Regions from separate parts of the Homo sapiens genome. Here regions 1 and 3 are each linked to region 2. The links are contacts of gene promoters, found by promoter capture Hi-C in blood cells and fetal thymus (Javierre and others, 2016). All regions are on one chromosome and are shown on one strand. The core of a region is centred on a gene start or on the middle of the fragment in contact, and the rest is flanking DNA. Distances in the headings are between cores, read along the strand shown.

The links. The method cuts DNA at HindIII sites, captures the fragments that hold promoters and counts their contacts. A CHiCAGO score of 5 or more calls a contact.
Region 1: a contact is called between a fragment that was not itself captured here and the fragment with the promoter of KCNIP2-AS1 in region 2, in 4 of 17 cell types (erythroblasts, naive CD4 T cells, megakaryocytes and 1 more). The highest score is 7.0, in erythroblasts.
Region 3: a contact is called between a fragment that was not itself captured here and the fragment with the promoter of KCNIP2-AS1 in region 2, in 5 of 17 cell types (fetal thymus, naive CD4 T cells, total B cells and 2 more). The highest score is 7.1, in fetal thymus.

What each region holds. Positions count from the first base shown.
Region 1 is chr10:100,996,890-101,001,170 of GRCh38, forward strand. LZTS2 (leucine zipper tumor suppressor 2) reads left to right here and starts at 2,919. Exons shown (of 5, transcript NM_001318100.2): 1 at 2,919-3,063. RefSeq lists an enhancer at 1-7 and silencers at 91-380, 2,171-2,580, 2,681-3,060. The HindIII fragment of the contact is 2,612 bases long and covers 1-2,556 here.
Region 2 is chr10:101,817,701-101,821,901 of GRCh38, forward strand. KCNIP2-AS1 (KCNIP2 antisense RNA 1) reads left to right here and starts at 1,368. Exons shown (of 3, transcript NR_045118.1): 1 at 1,368-1,548. It overlaps OGA (O-GlcNAcase), which reads right to left and starts at 744. Exons shown (of 16, transcript NM_012215.5): 1 at 124-744. The coding sequence starts at 322. RefSeq lists enhancers at 277-852, 654-773 and silencers at 304-363, 444-503. The HindIII fragment of the contact is 3,022 bases long and covers 823-3,844 here.
Region 3 is chr10:102,499,118-102,503,453 of GRCh38, forward strand. ACTR1A (actin related protein 1A) reads right to left here and starts at 3,595. Exons shown (of 11, transcript NM_005736.4): 1 at 3,483-3,595. The coding sequence starts at 3,530. It also overlaps a transcript of SUFU not described here. RefSeq lists enhancers at 1,579-2,079, 3,474-3,573 and a silencer at 3,924-3,993. The HindIII fragment of the contact is 158 bases long and covers 2,226-2,383 here.

The DNA.
Region 1 (4,281 bases), core at 1-2,500, 820 kb before region 2:
TTCCCCAGGTCAAAAACCAAATCCAGTAAGCTGTGAAGTCAGAGGCCAGAGGGGCAGCCTCGGCCACCGTCGAGTCACTCTTAGGCTGGGCACTGGGTCGGCTGCTGGTGGAGTGCGGGGCAGACCACTCCCCTCCCTGGGTGGGGGGCGCGGCCTGAGCCGCCCCGCCCCGCCCCGCTCCACCAGGTCGGGCCAGGCGGGCGCCGGGAGCTGGGAGCCGGGAGCCCAGAGTTCGGAACCTAGAGTTCGGAGCCGGCTAGGGAGCCGGCGTTGTCGCGGCGAGGAGGTGGGCGCGCTGGAGCAGGAGCGGGGCCGGAACTGGAGCCGAGGCGCAGGTGGCGCTGGGTGAGTGGTGGGGCGGCGGAGGTGCAGGAACTCCCGCCTCCCGCTCATCCCCGCTCCTGAACGAACTTTCCGCTTCTAGGGAAGCTAGGGGTTGGGGTGAGGAGGGGGGTCCGCACTTGGTGGGGTCCCCGCGAAGAGTCCGAACAGGGAAGTGACACGAAAACGCACGCCGACGGGCCCCACACACGCGTGCACAGACCCACGCCCGCACTTGGGACACGCGAACACACATGCACTCGGAAAGGACGCGCCCAGTTGGCCACCCTTGCACTCCCAGGGACAGCGCCAGCCGGCCCGCGCGGACCCACAGCGGGCAGGGCACTCTGCGGTCGCGTATTGGGTGCGGGAAAGGGGCAGCCCTGTGACTACCGACGGGGGCGGGCCGGGTGGGACGCACCCGGAGGTTCCTGCTTCCTGGCCTCCCGCAGGTGAAGACCAAGACGTAAACAGACGCCGAGCACGTGACAGCTCCGCAGACCAGTGGCCTGTGCCCCCAACCCAACCACGGGGCGGAAATCCACCCTAGTCCGGGGCGCGTTTGCTTGGTCCCAGGCCGGACGGCGTTCCATTCTCCGCCTGGAGCGGGGATAAGCCCTCTCCCGGGAACCGGAGCACAGCGCCCCCTGGAGCCGGGGCGGAGCAGGAGGGCCCGGCTGCTGGGCAGGGCTGGGGTTAACTCGGGCTCCTGGACGTCCTTCTCCCCAGCACATTCTTGGTGTCTGCATCCCTGAAGGTTTCGGAGACAGGCCCTTGATGGCAGTGGACAGCTGCCCCCGCCTGTTACCGCCAGCCCAGAGAGCAGCTGCCTGAGCGCCTGCGGGTCCCCTTCCTACCCTCACCTCCACTCCTTGCGGGAGTCGGAGTCTCCTCCCCCCAGAAAATGCATGAGTGTAAACGCTCCCTCAATACCAGAGTGGGCCTGCCCCCCTAGAAAAAGGAGGACGAGCCCCTCCCCCCAGGGAATGAGGGAGTGGGCAGTAGCCCGATGCCTCCTCCTCGCCCCACCCCCTACCCCTACACACACGCTGAGCCCAGCTGCCGCCTGAGCTGGGCAGGCTGCCAGAAAGAGGAGGAGGCTCTCGGTGCCCCAGGAGGCAGGGATCAGGGCAAGGCCAGAGGAGGGGGCTCTGCTGGGGAGAGGGGCTCAGTCTGTTCTTGTGAGGCTGAGGGTCTGGGGTGAGTCAGGGTGGCTGGGCTGTGTTTCCCTTTCCAGGGAAAAAGAAAGAAAAACAACCCTGTCCATGGAGCTAAAAATAGAGCTGAGAGCCGGCCAGGGCTGTGGCCTGGAAGGGGGGGATGCTCCTTCCTGGGGCCCGGGCGAGCTCCGGCAGGCCTTGGCCCTGCGGGGGAGGGGGTGGTTAGGGGAGAAAGGCTGCCTTTGCCCAGGGATGCAGGCATCAGCTGACCTGACCGGGTCACCGAGACCCCTAGGGGAAAGGCTGTGCGGTAGAATATTTGTGAAGCACGGCGTGTAAGAAGTTGTCTGTGTGAGTGACTGTGAATAGAGGCTGTCAATGCGTGAAAGATGGTTAGGAGACTAAGTGCACTTGAGACTGTGACTGGGTGCGAAGGACTGCGGATTGTTGTGGAAGCCTGTGCCCAACAGGCCTGTGACACCGTGTCTGTGTGTGAGGTGGACTGGAAGATTATGGAAAGAAGGAACGCGGACCCACGTGACGGCTGAGACTGCGGCTGCATGTGGGAAAGGTCTTGTGGGTGTTAGGGAGACTGTATTGTGTGCGAGAAGGTGAGACTACTTGACCCTGAGGAAGTGGAATATTGTCTGCCGTGAGGCTGGTGTAGGTTTGGGCTGTAGGCTTGCACCGGTTCGCCCCAGTGATTGTTGGGGAGCCAGGGGCCGCTCCTCTCCGATAAATGACCTCTCTCTTAGCAAGTGATCCCGAGGGGAGGCTGGGGAGCACGCGGTCGCGCCAGAGGCCGGCCTGGGTTCGCGGGGAAAAGGGCACCGTGCCGGGGAGTGGGGCAGGGCCCGCGTGTTGGGGGCGGCTGGGTGTGTTCTCCGAGCCGGCCGCCAGGTGGCGTCGCCTCCGCGAAGCCCAGGTTGCCGCCTCCAACCCGCCGTGGGGCAGGCGCGGATCGAGCCTCGGCCTCCTACTCGGGCTAGGGCGCGGGGTCCCGGCACCGGAGAGTGGGGGACGGCCGGCCATCGGCCTCTCGCTTGGGACTCTGAGGCTGAGAGCGTGTCAGGGAAGCTTCGCCTGGAGAAGCGGAGGGGGAGGGGCGGCCGCCGCCGCGCCGTGGCCCTTTGTGCTGGAACAATGACCAGCTGCCGCTGGCCCCGGGGCCCCGGCTGGGGTTGAGGGTGACCACCGCCGCCGCCGCGTCGAGCCGAACCGAGCCCCCAGACACGCAGTCACAGGGCGTCGGAGGGAGGGCTCCCGACTGCCGCCGAGCAGCCCCTACGTGCGCCCCGGCGGATTCGCGTGACGCGGGTGCTTGCGCGTGTCCGCGCCCCGGGGCGGAGACGCCCCTCGGACCCTCCCCTGCGCGGTGCCGCCCACTCGCACCGGGCGGGGGCTGGCCAGGGCCGGGGGCGCCGCGGAGGCGGAGGCGGGGCTGGGCCGGGCAGCTCCGAGTGGCGGCGCGCGGGCCAGGGCCGGGGCCGGGGCCGGGGCCGGAGCCGGAGCCGGGGCCGGGCGGCGCGCCTGTGGAGCGCTGGGGGCGGCCTGGGGCTGAGCATGGAGCAGCGCGGCGGAGGTGAGGGGGGCCGGGTCTGGGAGGCGGCCTGGGGAGCCCCCAACTTATGCGCGGTGGAATCCAGCCGGGGGGACGGCGTTCCCCAGTCGCCCCCACTTTCTGGAAGGGGGGCTGGACTCTGGAGAATGGGTCAGGGGCTCCTGGCTTCCCGCCGCAGAATGGGAACTCGTGATCGCAGACTTGACCCCGCTTGACTGGTCCTTGGAGTTTGGGTGGGAGGGAGACTTTCCCCAACTCTTCAGATCCGTCTCCGGCCCTGAACCAGCTCCAGCCCTCTGCTCTCCTCAGCCCACTAAAAGGGGGGTGCTCCTGGGCCAGAGTGATTGCTCAGGGAGTGCTGGGGAGAATGAGGGGTTCCCATCTCCCACAGCCACAAACGCATTTCTCAAAATGGAGCCTCCACTTGCCCCTCCTTCTCTTTCGGGCTCCAAGAGCGGGAGCCGGCCTGGCTGGGCCTGGCTTTCCAGACTCCTGGCTCTGGCTCCCTGGATGTGTGGCTCTCAGGGCCCGGCTCTGTGGCACTTTGGACTTATGGGCCCTCGGCTCCGTGGGGTTGGGGGGCCCTGGCTCACTGGGTCCCGCTGGCTGTCCCCTTGTCGGCCTGACCCTCGGGCCTCTCCGAGTCTTTGTCTCTTTTGGGTCCCTGTCTTTCTCTGAGCCTGTCTCCTTCCTTCAATTTTCACTTTCTCCGTGCTCGCTGAAGTGGGGAAATGCAACAGAGGTGCCAGCCCCCTTGGCCCCCTAAGAAGTCCCTTCCCCACTGTTCACTCCACACCCTGGAGTGGGCCCAGAGAGGGGAGGGGAGGGGGTTCTCTATCTGCTCTGCTGGGGGCTGGGGTGTGTGGGGTGGTCTGAGCCCCAGCCCTACAGAGGGGCCTGTGGTCACTCCCTGCTCCTGGCCTACCCCTCCCCCAGCTCCCCGCAGCTCCTGCCCCAGCGTGGACACCTCTTCCTGGTTCGCAGTGTCTTTTGACTTGGGTGGGAAGGAGGGCGGTGGATTTAATGGAGGGCATGCGAGAAAGAAGGGGAACAGATCAGGCAAAGGAGTTAGATAATGTCCCACCTCTCCCCACACGCCGAAGAGAGAAGGAAACAGGCTCCCCCCACCAATGGGCCCTCAAGCCACCCAGGCTCCCACCACTCTCATACCTGCGTGCCCACGTTCACAGGCTCCACTGCACCACTCACCTTCCTAGTCACACACAAACACAGGAGCTC
Region 2 (4,201 bases), core at 118-2,617:
AGGGCCACATTTCAGACCCAGAGGCTTTCCGGCCTTTTAGAGTCTCCAAAATCCCCGCCACCACCCTCCTCCCGAGGACAGAACGTGTTAGTGCCAAAACGGGGAGGGAAGGAGGGCGCTCACCTTCCACCACACCGCAGAGGAACCGCCGAGCCCCTCCTGCAGCCCCGGCCACCGCCGCTCCCCCAGCCCCGGCGGGGTTGTCTTCTCCGGGTGCCGGAGCTGCCGGCGGCTCCAGCGATGCCCCCGCAGAGGCGGCAGGGTTGGAGCTGAGCTCGCTCTCCCGCTCCTCCAACGTCGCTTGACTCTCCTTCTGCACCATCCTCCTGCCCCCGGCCGCTGCCACCTCTGCGGGTCCTCCTCGACCTCTGTCCGTTGGGGCACCGGCCCGGAGCCCTGGAGAGGGCTTCAGCTCCAAGTGTGCGCCCCTCCGGCTCCTTCCCCTCCCCCTCTGCCCTTCCCCCTCCCTCTCCGCAGGGACCCGAATGCCCGGATGAGAAGGGCGGCGGCACCGGCGCGAGCCCTTTGTCAGCCGCAGCCTCGGCTTTAAGCTGGGGCGCCAGAAGCCTAAGCGGAGAGCGAGGCTGTGACCTCTCGTTCCCTGGAAGAAGACGGCCAAGGGTCCTGTCCTCGTTCTCTGCCTCTGCTGCCCTCCCGATAATCTTAGGTCTTCCGCTGTTTCCCCTCCAAGCCCCGAGCTCTCCCTCTGCTGCTGCCTCCACCGCCCGCTTCCTGTTTATCCGCACTGCGCTTGCGCTGCAGACCGGCTCAGACCGGTCCCCTCCGCCCGGCTCCCCCGCCTTCTTTGGGGCTAGCCTATTAAGCTTCTTTAGGTAGGGGGAAATAGAACAGGAGACGCGAAAAGCAGAAGGTAATGAAGGCAGTGGAATGTACCATTTCTGCTTGCCACCCTCCGAAACAAGCCTGGCACCCTGGGACGGACGGACCATTACCCGCCCCGAAGGAGGGGAGTATGGGAGGAGGCTGCCGCCGGTTGGGGCAATAGGGAGAAGGGGGGAAGGTGAAAAGGAGAGGTGTTTATTCTCTCAGTGCGCAGGCGCGGAGCCGCGGCCTCTCGTTCTTAAAGAGATAGGAAAGAACTGACCTACTTTCTATGGAGATTCTTGTAATAGGTGGGCTCATTACATCTGCCTAACCCAGGCTTGGTTCGGTAAAGACACCATTCCAAGGAGCTCAGCTCACCCCTCTGCCTTGAATCATTTTCCCCTAATCCCATTTAAAATGTAATCATTCGTTCATTCCTTCATTCAGTAGACATCTATAGAGCTTGCCTCGTGCTGGGCTCTAGAACACTATGAGCTCACAGTACGGTGGTGGAGACAAGCCACCACACACGCAGTTCCCACAAGGTGTCCCCAAGAACTTCGGAGCTCAGAACAGGTGATACTCACTCCTCCTTTGGGGAGAGGCCGTGGGCATGGCTTCACTTTTCAGCTGGATTATAAAGGATGTGAAGTTAGCCTGACTGAGCAGAAGGGGAGGGAAGACAGCACTCCAGGAAAGTGGAACGAACAACAGAGTCCAAAGGTAGGGAGGCATGAAAAGCCTGCCTTGTTTGGGAATGGGGAGCGCGCGGTGTGTGCAGTGGGGCATGAGATCCCTTCGGCCTCGGCATGGGCATCGCTTCCTTGGGAAGCCTTCCCTGAGCCCTAGATGGGTTTGGGTCTCCTTGCTGTATGTTCTCAGAGCTCTCTTGTAGACCTACCCTAATGCACTTTACATTTATGATGCTTGAGAAATCTATCTCAACCTGTGAGGTATAAACATGAAATGATGATTAAGACTTAGTAATGTCCATCTTACACTTCAGTCTGATATTTACCTTCTTTAGCCGTAGCCCAACTTGTAGTTTCAGGGACTTTCATGGTCCCTCTTCTTTTCAGTCCTGGATTGTTGAGATGGGGGTTAGGAGCAAACTTTTTTTTTTTTTTTGAGACAGAGTTTCACTCTGTCGCCCAGGCTGGAGCGCAGGAGCGCAGTGGCGCAATCTCGGCTCACTGCAGCCTTCACCTCCTGGGCTCAGGCTATTCTCCTGCCTCAACCTCTCGAGTAGCTGAGACTACAGGCACCCGCCACCACACCCGGCTAATTTTGTGTTTTTAATAGAGACGGGGTTTCGCCACGTTGACTAGGCTAGTCTTGAACTCCTGACCTCAGGTGATCCACCTGCCTCGGCCTCCCAAAGTGCTGGGATTACAGGTGTGAGCCACCGCGCCCGGCCGGACAAGCATTTTCTTAAGGGACCTCCTGTGCTGAGAGTTAGGGGCCATAGCAGCTTTACTGGATATTGTGGTCCGTTGGGGTTGAGAACACAATTTTTTTTTTTTTTTTTTTTTTGTAAGAGAAGAGGTCTCATTTTGCCACGCAGGCTAGTGCAATCATAGCTTAAGTATCGAATTCCTGGGCTCTCAAGGGATCTTCCCGCCTTAGCCATCCCGAGTAGCTGGGACTATAGGCGAGTGCCCGCCACCACACTCTTTTAATTTGTTCATTTTTGGTAGAGACGGGGGTCTCAACATCTTGCCCAAGCTGGTCTCAAACTCTTGGGCTCAGGTGATCCTCCAGTCTCAGCCTCCCAAAGTGCTGGGATTACAGACACGTGCCACCTCACCTGGCCGAAAAGAACTTTTATCTGAGGAATGAGAGTCCTTTTAAATTATCAGGCCCAGATGGCTGGGCGCAGTGTTGGTGTTTGCAACCAGCCTGGGCAATATTGCCAGACCCAGTCTTTATAAAAAAATAAAAATAGGCCGGGCGTGGTGGCTCACACCTGTAATCCCAGCACTTTGGGAGGCCGAGGCAGATGGATCACCTGAGGTCGGGAGTTCGAGACCAGCCTGACCAACATGGAGAAACCCCGTTTCTACTAAAAATACAAAATTAGCTGGGCATGGTGGCAGATGCCTGTAATCCCAGCTACTCGGGAGGCTGAGGCAGGAGAATCACTTGAACCCGGGTTGCGTGAGCCGAGATCGTGCCATTGCACTCCAACCTGGGCAACAAAAGCTAAACTCCATCTCAAAAAAAAAACAAAAAAAAAAAAAAAAAAAAAAAGCCAGGCGTAGTGGTGTGCACCTGTAGTGCTAGGATCTCACCACTGCACTCCAGCCTGAGCCACAGAACAAGACCCTGCCTCTAAAAAAAAAAAAATTAAAAAATAAATAAATCTTTAAAAATTAAAAATAAATAAATAGGCCCAGCGAGGCATTAAAATGACAGAATCAGCCGGGCTCAGTGGCTCACGCCTGTAATCCCAGCACTTTGAGAGGCCAAGGCGGGCAGAAAGTCAGGAGTTCAAGAATAGCCTGGCCATCATGTTGAAACTCCGTCTCTACTAAAACTACAAACAATAGCTGGGCATGGTGGTGCGCGCCTGTAATCCCAGCTATTTGGGAGGCTGAGGCAGGAGAATCACTTGAACCTGGGAGGCAGAGGTTGCAGTGAGCCAAGATCGTGCCACTGCCCTCCAGCCAGGGCAACAGAGTGAGACTCAGTCTCAAAAAAAAAAAAAAAGAAAAGAAAATGACAGAATCACATCCTATGCCTCCCTCCTTTGAGCTATGTATTCATCTCTTGACACTGCTTGCTCTTGCCACAAGTAGCTATAAATTAACCTAATAATGTTGTACTGGACATTCTAACACACACCCTATAGTTTAACAATGTATAGCCAATCAATAGCTTATGTTATTTTAATGTAAACTGTTGGTAAATAACTCAGGAACTGCCTCTTCTTTCCCTATAAAAATCCACTTGTAACTGCTGCTAATCAGAGTGTCTATTTAGGGCAACTTGAATCTATGCTCTTTCGTTGCAATCCTCAAGCTTATAATAAACTCTCTACTTGTATTCATTTTGCCTCAGCTTCTTCCTTATAGGTTGACAGGAGATTTGGGGGCTGTCATTCTGGCTGATGTCCTTAGTCTCATGACATTTTCCTCTTTGCCTTAATCACTGCCAGCAAGTCAGCAGCCACAATTTCTCCTACTTTCCATAGTCCAGTCTCATAGGGAAGGTTTGCCCCATTTCTGTGTCCCTCAAATTTGAAGAGTGGTTCTTGCCACATAACTGCTATACACTTTCTCACCATACCACACCTCTCTCCACCCACCCCCAACACCTACAACAGTAACAGTGCTTAGTAGACCTATGATGAATATTTGCGGAATGAATGAGATAG
Region 3 (4,336 bases), core at 1,055-3,554, 680 kb after region 2:
CTGCTTTCTTTCTCCTGCATTCTTTTGATTATACTCTTCTGCCCATAAATAAAGTGTAGCAACATGTTAAGCTATGGAGTTAACATAGCTAGTGATACATTATTCTCATTATATGTAATAAGTTGTCTCAGGTATTTCAAATAATGTTTCCTATACATCTACCATCTTGAAAATAATAAAAACAAAATGACCCCCCAAATGTTAAACAACAAGGACTACCTGAGACCGCACATGTAAAAATGTGGCAGATTTTCAGCAAATACTAATAGGAAAATGACTTAAGTTTCTCCTACTTCACCTTTTGGCAGAAATACTGGCATAATAAAGGACATGTTTTCCCAGAGGGGGAAAAAAAAGACAAGTCAATTCTTTAAATCTTGAAACTAAAAATGCATCACTGCTGTAATGCATTTCGAAACATACTACCAGGAAAGAGAAAGAAAAAAATTAAGACGCATTAGTGTAAGTGATATTAAAGAAAATGGCCGGAGATGGAACTCCTGCCTAGCAATTCAAGAAGCAAAGGAGCTGGTGGGATAGACAGGTTGTTCCTTCTGCATTGCTGATGAAAACAGGAAATTGAATTTCTATATATTTTTCCTTTTTACAACTAAGAAAAAGGCAGAAGAAGCACAAAGAGCCTGGCTAAAGACAGAAATCGTAGTGCTCTCTGAAAATCAACATCAAGAACAAAAAGTCCTACTCAATTATCTGCAGTAACTAACTAGAGAAAACTCCCCATCTTTTCTTTATTTAGGAATATCTTTGTTACTTTGATAGAGATATTCAGTCATTCATCCAATCACCCATCAATCCAATGAAAAAACATTTATTGAGCACACAGAGGTGCCAGACCCTAGGTATACTGTGTGTGTGTGGAGAGAAGTGGGTGAAGTGAGACTAAAGGAATATCATCTTTCTTAAATTTTTTTTCCCAACACCACTAAACCTGTGGGAGAATATCATCTTTTTCCACAAGGATTTAATAGTCTAGTGAGGGAGACAAAAAGATCCTCTCAAAAATGAAGTATCTGGGCTGGGTGTGGTGGCTCATGCTTGTAATCCCAGCACTTTGGGAGGCCAAGGCGGGTGGATCATTTGAGGTCAGGAGTTCAGGACAAGTCTGGCCAATATGGTGAAACCCCATCTCTACTAAAAATACAAAAATTAGGCCGGGCGCGGTGGCTGACGCCTGTAATACCAGCACTTTGGGAGGCCGAGGTGGGCGGATCACGAGGTCAGGAGATCGAGACCATCCTGGCTAACACGGTGAAACCCCATCTCTACTAAAAATACAAAAAATTAGCCGGGCGAGGTGACGGGCGCCTGTAGTCCCAGCTACTCGGGAGGCTGAGGCAGGAGAATGGCGTGAACCCGGGAGGCGGAGCTTGCAGTGAGCCGAGATCGCGCCACTGCACTCCAGCCTGGGCGACAGTGAGACTCCGTCTCAAAAACAAACAAACAAACAAACAAACAAACAAACAAACAAAAATTAGCCAGGCGTGGTGGTGCACATCTGTAATCCCAGCTACTTGGGAGTCTAGGCTGGAGAATCTCTTGAACCTGGAGGCGGAGGCTGCAGTGAGCTGAGATCGCACAATTGCACTCCAGCCTGGGTGACAAAGCGAGATCCTGTTCCCTCCACCCCCCCACACCAAAAAAAGAGGCGTCTCTGCCAGGCACGGTGGCTCAGGCCTATAATCCCAGCACTTTGGGAGGCCAAGGTAGGAGAATCGCAACAGCCCAGGAGTTTGAGACCAGCCTGGACAACATGGTGAAACCCTTCCTACAAAAAATACAAAAATTAGCCAGGGGTGGTGGCGCGTGCCTGCAGCCCCAGCTACTCGGGAGGCTTAAGCGGGAGGATCACTTGAGCCCAGGAGGTTGAGGCTGCAGTGAGCTGTGATCGCGCCACTGCATTTCAGACTCAGCAACAGAGCGAGACCCTGTCTCCAAAAAAAAAAAAGAAAAAAAAAATGAGCTGTCTCATTGAGCTCAATCCTGCCCCTTTCTAAGGGGGAATAATAAAAACAAAATACCCATGGAGAGAAGGAAAATTTAATGAAAACAACAACAAAAATATATTGGAAAAAGCAAGCAACTTGGAACTGGATCTTAGTCTGATGACTGGCTCCTCAATTCCTAAACTGGATGGTTTGAAATCTGTTATTTAACATCCCTGCATACACTGGGGATAGTAATTCCTATCTACCTAACAGAGCTGAAGCTTAAACGAGAACATTGTAATATGCCTAAGGTCCCAAGAGCTGAATCAACAAAGGGAATCTGACAGAGTCAGCTTACAACAGAGGGAACTGGTAGTTTTGCCTCAATGGAGGGACCTACAAGGGACACAGACAGGGATCAATCTCTGTGGGACCAAAGCTTTGAATCGAAGGCAGAAATGCAGTCGTTTTACAATTTTCTCCTTTCCCCCCAAAATAAGAGCAGTATTTAGATTCTTTCTATTGGTCAATATTGATGCTTCTGCATGGTGGTGCTGGCAAAAGGGATGACGGATAAAGTACTGGATTTAGGGCACCTCTGCTATGTGACCTTGGGCTCACGTTACGTCTTCGCGCTTCAGTTTTCTCATCGGTAACACGAAGATCAAAGTTCCTTTTAAACTATGCGTCCAGTTTTTGTGAGGATCCAACTCGAATGTATGTGAAAACGCCCTGGAAGCGCTAGAGCGCCAGGCAAATATTAAGTTTGGTAATTTTTTCCCCGTAAGAACTAGGCGTTCCAAAGAGGAGGACAACCTCTCTGCTTCCTTTGTCACTCTCCTTTCTTCTCGACCTTTACCAACTTTGTAATTTATAATCACAGTAATAGCTGACATCCTACAGCGGTTTCTGGCACCAGATTCTCGGGCCCCACCCAGATCCACACCACCAAGCCGCAGCGCCGGCTGAGACCGAAGGAAAACTTAGCCGTTCTCCACCCGCGGGCGGGCACTCGCCTCTAGGCCCCACCACCCAGAGTCCCGGAAGCCAATCCCCACAGCCCTGGAGCACTGCCCCGCCCCTTCAAGAGGGAAAACAATATGGCGGCAAGGAAGAATGGCAGGGGCGTGAGCCAATCACCGCAGAGGCCTAGCCTCATCCGGCAAGGCTAAGAGGCGGTATCATTGGCTAAGATGGACAGCCAGAGCAACCAATAGAGCGATCGGAAATGGGGGAGAGGGCGGGCGACGGGAATCTCACACAGCGGTTAAGGCCCCTAGAGCCAAGGGCCCAAGGACTGGCTTGGACTATAACTCTTTCCTTTATCCACTCCAGAGTTCTCCATCCCACTTTTGCTGGCTGGCCGCCTTGCCTGCGGACTATGTGATAAGGGGAGGAAGGAGGCGGCGGTGGCTGAACGCGCCTGACAGGCCGGGCCAGTGACAAAGAGCCGGCGGCTCAGGCTGAACCCCGGGAAGCGATCCTTTCGAGGAGGAGAGCCCAAGTCCCCTTATAGATAGGAAAGACGCAACTCACGTTGTCGATCACGACAGGCTGGTTGGCGATCACATCGTAGGACTCCATGGCAGAGGAATCTCTCCTTCTGGGGAAGGAACTGCCCAGCCGGGTCCGCCGCTAGCGCCACTGACACGCATGCGCAGTCTAGCCGCCGGTTCAGGGCGGCGAGGGAGCGGCCCGACCTCGCCTCTGAAGAACTACAATCCCCAGCAAGCTTTGCGCCTGGGTTAGCGATCTAGCTTGCTTTGTTGCCCGCCTAGTTTAAGATTGGGAGTCGCATTTCCAATGCGCAGTACCCTGGGATTTGTGGTCTCCCTAGATTAAACAGCCAGAGACACAGGTTGATGGTCATGTTGCATGCCTGGATCTGTAGTCCCTTTGAAGGAGTTCGCAGTGCATGCTGAGGTATGTAGTCTTCTCGAGTACTTGTCTGTAGTTCGGTTTGGATTGGTCGTAATTCATGGATGTTTGGATTTTGCAGATCAGCCCTGCCACTCCCCCCGACGTTCCCTTAGACAATATAAGGTTCTCATGTTTTTATTTGGGTCTGTAAGACTTTAATAAACATCTCCTAGCACCTCACACTCTAACAAAAAGGAAATGTTAACACACGTACGCGAGAGGACATATTCCTACAACAAAGGAAAACAATTTAAATTGCATAAAATTAGCTTTAAGTTTAAAAACCTGTACATTGTCGTTGCCTTTTGCATTTTCTTTTTTTCTGCATAACAGGCTAACATTGATCCGAAGATTGGCAATTGGAACTACTGGTATAGGTAATCTTTTGGTCATTAAAACATCATCTAAGGGTTTCAGAAACTGCTCGAGTATCTCTTTAATTTTCATAACGAGCTAGAATTGACACTGAT